Regions from separate parts of the Homo sapiens genome. Here region 1 is linked to region 2. Evidence: promoter capture Hi-C in 16 types of primary human blood cells and fetal thymus (Javierre and others, 2016). All regions are on one chromosome and are shown on one strand. The core of a region is centred on a gene start or on the middle of the fragment in contact, and the rest is flanking DNA. Distances in the headings are between cores, read along the strand shown. Region 1 overlaps GCN1 (GCN1 activator of EIF2AK4). Region 2 holds the start of PXN (paxillin).

Region 1 (3,761 bases), core at 931-3,430, 110 kb after region 2:
GAAGAAGGGCTGGGCTGGCAGGGCAAGTGCTGCAGATCTTTGTCTAAGCAGCCCCTGCCTTGGATCTCCCACAGGCTCTGGTCAATGATGGGCCTAGACCTGCAGCCAGACCTCTGCTCCTTGCTGATTGACGACGTGATCTATCATGAGGCGGCTGTAAGGCAGGCAGGGGCCGAAGCCCTCTCCCAAGCAGTGGCACGTTACCAGCGGCAGGCGGCGGAGGTTATGGGCAGGCTCATGGAGATTTACCAGGAAAAGCTCTACGTGAGTGACCTGTGCAGCCCTGATGCAGTCTGGGTGTGTGCGGTTGGGTGGGTCTCTGCTCACCCCGCTACTGCTCCAGACAGGAATCTCGGGGCTCACGGTGGCTCAGGGTAGCTGCGGCTAGTTTCCTGCCTCACAATCCTGGTGCCCAGGTCATTGATCTGCCCGTTGCAAAGCATTTACCAACTTGTCTGTTGCAGCGGCCGCCCCCAGTGCTGGATGCTTTGGGACGAGTTATTTCAGAATCTCCTCCAGATCAGTGGGAAGCCAGGTATAACAATTGTTCAGCCTCGTTCTACTCCAAGCTTTGTGAGATGTGGCAGGTTGGCTGGGTGGGTGCTGTGAGGAGGCAGCATGGGTTAATGAAAGAGCAGGACCTCCCTCAGAGTCGGGGAGGCCTGAGTTCCATCAGCCCCTGGAAGGGGTGGGATTGGACCGTGTGAGGCACCATCTTTCAGAAGAGCCTCTGACCTGCCTCCTCACCTCTCTCTAGGCTGTACTGTCCAAGATGTAGCCACTAACCGCATGTGGCTAAAGTTAAATCAATTAAAATGAACTCTAAGTAAGTTCCTTAGAGTGTCCTCTCCTGCACTAGCTGCGTGACCGTGAGCGTGTTTCTCCTTTTCCCCAGGCCTCTGTTTCCTCATCTATATGCAGGGCACAATAACAGAAGCTACCAGCCTTTCTCCACAGAGCCCATGAGTAGCAGTTGGAGGATTAGACAGATGTCTGGGAGCAACTGGGACATTGAAAGACACTTGCCTCCCACAGAGCAGGCTCAAAACACGCAAGGGTGTTAGTTCTCTGAATGGCTCATCCTGGCCGTGTCCACTCCCGTGAGGCCTTGTGTGTCAGTGTAGGGTGGTGTATGGGCCCATCCTGGCTTATTTTTCATTCCAGACCATCAGCCAGGGATAGGACACAGATTCTTTGCTCCATGACTGGAAAGAGTAACAACACTTTGCCCTTGGAGAATGTGTTCACTTCCACAGGCCTCTACATCTGGTTCTTTTACCTCTGTGTTCTCTTACAACCTGCTTTGCAGGTAGAGGGGTGAGCATTGCACTCACATTCCTCTCTGGGGAAACCAACACAGGGCTGGTCACCCAGTAGGAGGTAAAATCAGGGCAGATGGCAAGTCTCCATATGACAAGTGGGTTGTTCCAGAACATTGGGTGAGCACTGGGTGGTGGGCTTCAGGCTGTTCTCTGCCCCCAAAACAGTGTTTGCCTCAGGCAAGCTCCCTCTCCTTGCCGTGCACCAGCAGAGGTTCCACTGGCAGAGGAGGCCCCCTGACTGCCCCTCCTGATGTGCTCCCACTTCTTTCCCAGGTGTGGCTTGGCGTTGGCCCTCAACAAGCTCTCCCAGTATTTGGACAGCTCTCAGGTGAAGCCACTCTTTCAGTTTTTTGTCCCTGATGCCCTCAATGACCGACACCCAGATGTCCGGAAGTGCATGTTGGATGCAGCCCTCGCAACGCTCAACACTCATGGGAAGGTAAGGGGGTCCCAGCCAGGGAACACCCACGGGAAGGTAAGGGGGTCCCAGCCCGCTAAGGAGACACGGGAGGCAGGCGCTAGGGCTGAGCAGGGGCCAGAAATGCTGAGTGCCAAGAGTCCTGGCAGAGCACTTTGAGCCAAAAAGACCATGATAGTGTGTTAAATTCTTTTAAGTCTGTGGCAGTCCTGCCAGAAAACTGGAAGAGCCACTGGCTGGCATGTCAGGATGCCTGTCCCAGAGCTAGACTTGGTCTTGGTCCTCAGGGCAGGGACTGTTGTCCCCAGATGCAGCCTGTAGGGTTGACCTGAGGCTCTGAGGGGTTTGGCTTTCCAGGAGAACGTCAACTCGCTGTTGCCAGTATTCGAGGAGTTCCTGAAGAACGCGCCCAATGATGCCAGCTATGATGCTGTGCGACAGAGTGTGGTGGTCCTGATGGGCTCTCTGGCCAAGCACCTGGACAAGAGTGACCCCAAAGTGAAGCCCATTGTTGCCAAGCTCATCGCTGCCCTCTCCACCCCCTCCCAGCAGGTACCTGCCATCTGGCCTGGGACCCACATGTCGGTTAGAGAATTGGGACCCGGCTGTGGTTAGGCGGTGGGATACTAGGGGTGGAGTTGGACAATCAGGGCCCTGAAAGCCCAGTTCTTGTTAAGGATTCACCCCCTCTCGCAGGGGAGAGCCTGGTTTATAGTCAGGAACACTCCTGGAGAGGGAGTTTCTTTGTTACTTTGTTCTAGTAGACCTCCCAGATAGTTTCATTTTTTTCTACTCACCTGGTTTATAGTGAAGAATGCCCCTGGAGAGGGAGTTTCTTTGTTACTTTGTTCTAATAGACCTCCTAGATAGTTCCATTTTTTCTATTCACTAACGTGCACTGGGAATCCAAAGGGAAAAAAAATAAAAGGTCAGGCTTTCTCTTATGTCAAGCCTTTTTCTGGCCCTCTACATGTGTTGGTTGTGTGTTACAGGTGCGTTTTAATGTAGCCTCTAAGCTACAGTGCAAATAAATTTCTTTTTCTTTGTTTTGAAAAACACGCATGTATGTATATATAAATATATATATATTTATATATATATATTTTGTGTGTGTGTGTGTGTGTGTGCGCGTGTGTGTGTGGTTTGCATTTTGGACCACTTAGAGTGTCTTCATAAAGTGAACAGTTGGGCTGGGCGTGGTGGCTCATGCCTATAATCCCAGTGCTTTAGGAGGCTACAGGTGCGTTTTAATGTAGCCTCTAAGCTACAGTGCAAATAAATTTCTTTTTCTTTGTTTTGAAAAACACGCATGTATATATATATAAATATATATATATTTATATATATATATTTTGTGTGTGTGTGTGTGTGTGTGCGCGTGTGTGTGTGGTTTGCATTTTGGACCACTTAGAGTGTCTTCATAAAGTGAACAGTTGGGCTGGGCGTGGTGGCTCATGCCTATAATCCCAGTGCTTTAGGAGGCTGAGGTGGGAGGATTGCTTAAGGCCAGTAGTTCGAGACCAGCCTGGGCAACATAGTGAGATCCTGTCTCTACAAAAACTTTAAAAATTAGCCAGAGGTGGAGGCCATGCCTGTGTTCCTAGCTACTCAGGAGACCGAGGCAATAGGATTGCTTGAGTCCAGGAATTCAAGGTTATAGTGAATTATGATTGTGCCACTGCACTGTAGCCTGGGTGACAGAGTAAGACCCTATTTCTAAAAACAAAAACAAAAAACAACAAAAAACTTTACCAAAAAAATGCACAGTTGAAAACCAGTTTCCAAAATTGTGGTCAAATATGGTGTCAGAAAGCCTAAGCAGCAAAAGAGTCGCACCTGGGCACCTGCCAGCATGGCCTCGGGGTTGCTGCTCCCAAGCTGGGCTTAGTGAGCTGCGGCTGGGAGGCAGGATTGAGTGTCTTTTGGTTCCACTCAATTTGTGCCTGGTCCTATAAGGCCCTGCCCAATTTCTCTGTGATTTTGACAAGTTTGGAAACAGAGACACGGGCTGTTTTTATGGA
Region 2 (3,534 bases), core at 668-3,167:
TCAACCTCTGACTCTCAACTCTTCCAGCTGTAAAAGGGGCTAACAATGCTCATCTCCTAGGCTTGTGGTCAGTATTAAATGTCTTGTCTACAGACCTTTGCACATGCTGTTCCACACAGCTGGGAGTGGGGCGAGGCTACTCATCCTTCATGCTAACCACTTTGCTCTTTTGCGTGCACCTTTAGATTCAAGAAGGTAGACATCATGTTAGTCTTATTCATCATCCCAGCCTACGCAACAAAGCAAGACTGTGTCTTAAAAACACAAAAACAGGCTGGGCGTGGTGGCTCACACCTGTAATCCCAGCACTTTGGGAGGCTGAGGGGGGCGGATCACCTGAAGTCAGGAGTTCAAGACCAGCCTGGCCAACATGGTGAAACCCTGTCTCTACTAAAAATACAAAAATTAGCCAGGCATGGTAGTACACGCCTGTAATCCCACCAGGAGGCAGGAGATCACCTGAGATCAGGAGTTCAAGACCAGCCTGGCCAACATGGTGAAACCCCATCTCTACTAAAAATACAAAAATTAGCCAGGCATGGTGGTATGCGCCTGTAATCCCAGCAGGAGGCAGGAGAATCACTTGAACCTGGGAGGCGGAGGTTGCAGTGAGCTGAGATTGCACCACTGCACTCCAACCTGGGCGACAGATTGGGACTCCATCTCAAACAAAAACAAAAACACAAAAACTAAAACAAAATAGAGGTATGTGCAAGATGCTGGAAAACCACGCAATAGAGTGTTTGAGGAACAGTCTTTGGTCTTGAATTTATTATAGGAGAATGTGGCAGCCACAGAAGCTGCTTGGATCTGCCTTTATAAAATGACTGAACATGGTGGGAGCATTGGAACCCGGATACTTCTGCCCAAGGAGACTTCTCATTTTTTTTGTCCTGGAATTCCCTGATGGGTTGACCTGTTTGTCAGATCTGAGTCTCCTTGCCCAACCCTGCTTATTTCCCCTTCTCTGTCACGGGCATTACCCCTAGCTTTATCTCAGCATCTCATCTGCTTTCTGGAGGACCTGATCTGACCCAGAAGGCCTGGATTCTTGAGGGACAAGGGGAACTCGAAGCTGTACTTGCAGAGCAGTTTTATATAAAATCCACAAACTGCCATCACCCATCCCAACGGGTAGGGAAGTACCTCTAGGAGGATTAATTTAGAGAATAGCTATATAGTGTCTGTCTATTCAGACACTCAATAAATGGTAGTTGTTATTATTACCCAATTTCCGAGTGTGTGGGAGCACTGGGTGTGACTTTCCTGTAGTTTTCCCTTTAATGTCTAATCTGGGGACCCCTCTGCCCCATGCAGTTTTGGAAAAGTGTCTAGGGAGGGTGGCTGTGTGGAAGTAATATTAAGAGAGATGGAACCACACAGGTATTGGGTTTGGGCCAGAAAGGGTGAACTGCGAGCTGCACTGCCATTGATCCAGAGGACGACCCCAGGAAAGGTCAGCCACGGGCTCCGGGCCTTGCCTGGTACTGATTTATGGTCCTCCTGGGTGGTGACCTACAGGTGACAGACGGACAGGTGGGCAAAACTGACTGTCCAGTGGACAGGCATGTGATGACCCAGTGGCTGACGAATGCACAGACACATGGCTGACTGTGGACGGATTTGTCATCCGCAGGGTCAGGCAAGTGACTTTGAGAGGGACAGAAAGATGGATGGGAGTGGCTGGAGGCCTGGGAGCCGCCCACCTGCCCGCTTAGCCGCGAGGGGGCGCCACCGCCCCGCCCAGCGACGCCCACTGCCCGGGCTCTTGGCGGGGGCGGGACCAGCGTGCGCAGGGGGCGGGGCCAGCAAGCTCGCGGGGGTGTCCGGGGGCGGGGCGCGCGTGCACAGGGGGCGGCCGGGGGCGGGGCGCGCGGCGGGCGCGGGCGCGGGCGCGCGCGGCGGCGGCGCGTTCCGTTCCGGGCCGAGGCTCGCGGCGGAAAAGTTGCGGGGCATAGACGAGCGGCCCCGGGACGGGCAGCTAGCGCGACCCTGAGCCGGCGCCCGTGGTCCGGCCATGGACGACCTCGGTGAGTGAGCGGGAGGCCGAGGGAGGAGGAGGCGAGAGGCGCGCAGCTTGGGGCCAGGAGGGCGCCAGCGAGCGGCAGGGGCCGCGGGATCCCACCCTCGGCGGCCCCGGCCTCAGCTCCTGTCCCTGCCGGCCGGGGCTCCGCGGGGCTGGGATCCCTAACCGGGCCTTAGTCTCGGGCCAGGCCGGCCCCGGCACCGACCGCACAGCAGCGACCCCCCGTCTGGGACGGCTTCACCTCTGGACCCCCGACCTCGGGGACCCATCACCATCTCCCAGAAGGGCCCCAGGGACCAGCCCGCCCCTCAGGGACCCACCCCGTCCGCTGCAGGGACGAGACTTCCTGCGGCAGACCACCTCGTCAGCTACGGGACCCTCACCTCGCAGACCTCTCCCCACCCCCACCTCACAGATCGACCGCCCAACTCGGGGAGCAGCTGCCCGATCTCATGGGCTGCTCCCTCATTTCCTCGACCTGCTCCCCGTCCCTCCAGGGCCGCCCCCCACTTCACAGACTAGCACCCCCCTTCAGGGATAACCCCTCGGAGCCCACCCCTTTCATTTCACAAGTCAGATGCAAAAGCTAGAGATGAGCGTGTGATGACCACACCCCCATTTCAAAGACAAGTTTCCCAGTCTGCCTGCTCTTCTGACCCCCCACTTCAAATCTGGTCACCCCGTTTCAAGGACCCATCACTCATTTTCTCTCACTGACCTCCCCGCTCTGTGGACCAGCCCCTCAATTCACAGACCAGTCCGTCTACCATGGTATCTAAGTCTAGAACGGTAATTTGGGAGTCCTGATTCTCTCCCCACCCCTAGATTCTGGTGAAATGCCAGGGGAATGAGGTGGAAGGTGGGCCCCAAGGTATGACCATCCCTGAACGTGTCCTGGCTAGCAGAGTCCCCTCCACCCTCTCTGCGTCAGGCCCTGCTGGAAGCCACGCAGGTGAAAGAGGACAGGATGCCCAGAACAGAGTTTTACTGTTTTCCTGTTATTGGAGCCCCAAGGCTACTCTTTTCAGTCCAGTCTTGATCTGGTGTTAGGGGAAAGAAAGTATCTCCTGGAAGCCGACTCTAAACCCAAGGGGGTTGGTGCCAGGGTTCTAGGAATGCCTTGGGTGGCGTGAACGCAGGAGTGGGAGGATTCGCTGTCTCTCCCTCCCCTTCACGCCTGTAGCTGGAGGGCCCTGAGCTTGGGAGGTGAGGAGGGGGGCAACGTTTCTTCTCTGCAGGAGCCTTGTCTTTCCTCTCTGGACTGTGGGTGGCTTGTGTGACCACTGATGCTTCCTCTGTCCCAGGCTCTGAGGAGTAGATTCAGCAGACAGGACTGATGGACCTCTACCAAGCAGCGCCGGGCACTAAGTTAAGACTGGCTATTTGTAGGTGCTGGACTTGACTGCTTCCCTCCAGCTTCCTTTTGGGATCAGGGTGCCCCTGAGATCCTGGAGCTGGGGTTGGTGTAGGGTCCTGCCTGTTTTGCAGAGTGAGATGGCTGCCAAGCG

What was found. The method cuts DNA at HindIII sites, captures the fragments that hold promoters and counts their contacts. A CHiCAGO score of 5 or more calls a contact.
Region 1: a contact is called between a fragment that was not itself captured here and the fragment with the promoter of PXN in region 2, in 1 of 17 cell types (endothelial precursors). The highest score is 5.2, in endothelial precursors.

Annotation. Positions count from the first base shown.
Region 1 is chr12:120,151,744-120,155,504 of GRCh38, reverse strand. GCN1 (GCN1 activator of EIF2AK4) reads left to right here. Exons shown (of 58, transcript NM_006836.2): 30 at 75-264; 31 at 465-535; 32 at 1,596-1,761; 33 at 2,098-2,292. MIR4498 (microRNA 4498) reads left to right here and starts at 6; the gene lies at 6-71. The HindIII fragment of the contact is 3,218 bases long and covers 572-3,761 here.
Region 2 is chr12:120,264,113-120,267,646 of GRCh38, reverse strand. PXN (paxillin) reads left to right here and starts at 1,917. Exons shown (of 15, transcript NM_001385981.1): 1 at 1,917-2,030. The coding sequence starts at 2,018. RefSeq lists silencers at 1,610-1,889, 2,050-2,199. The HindIII fragment of the contact is 6,296 bases long and covers 1-3,534 here.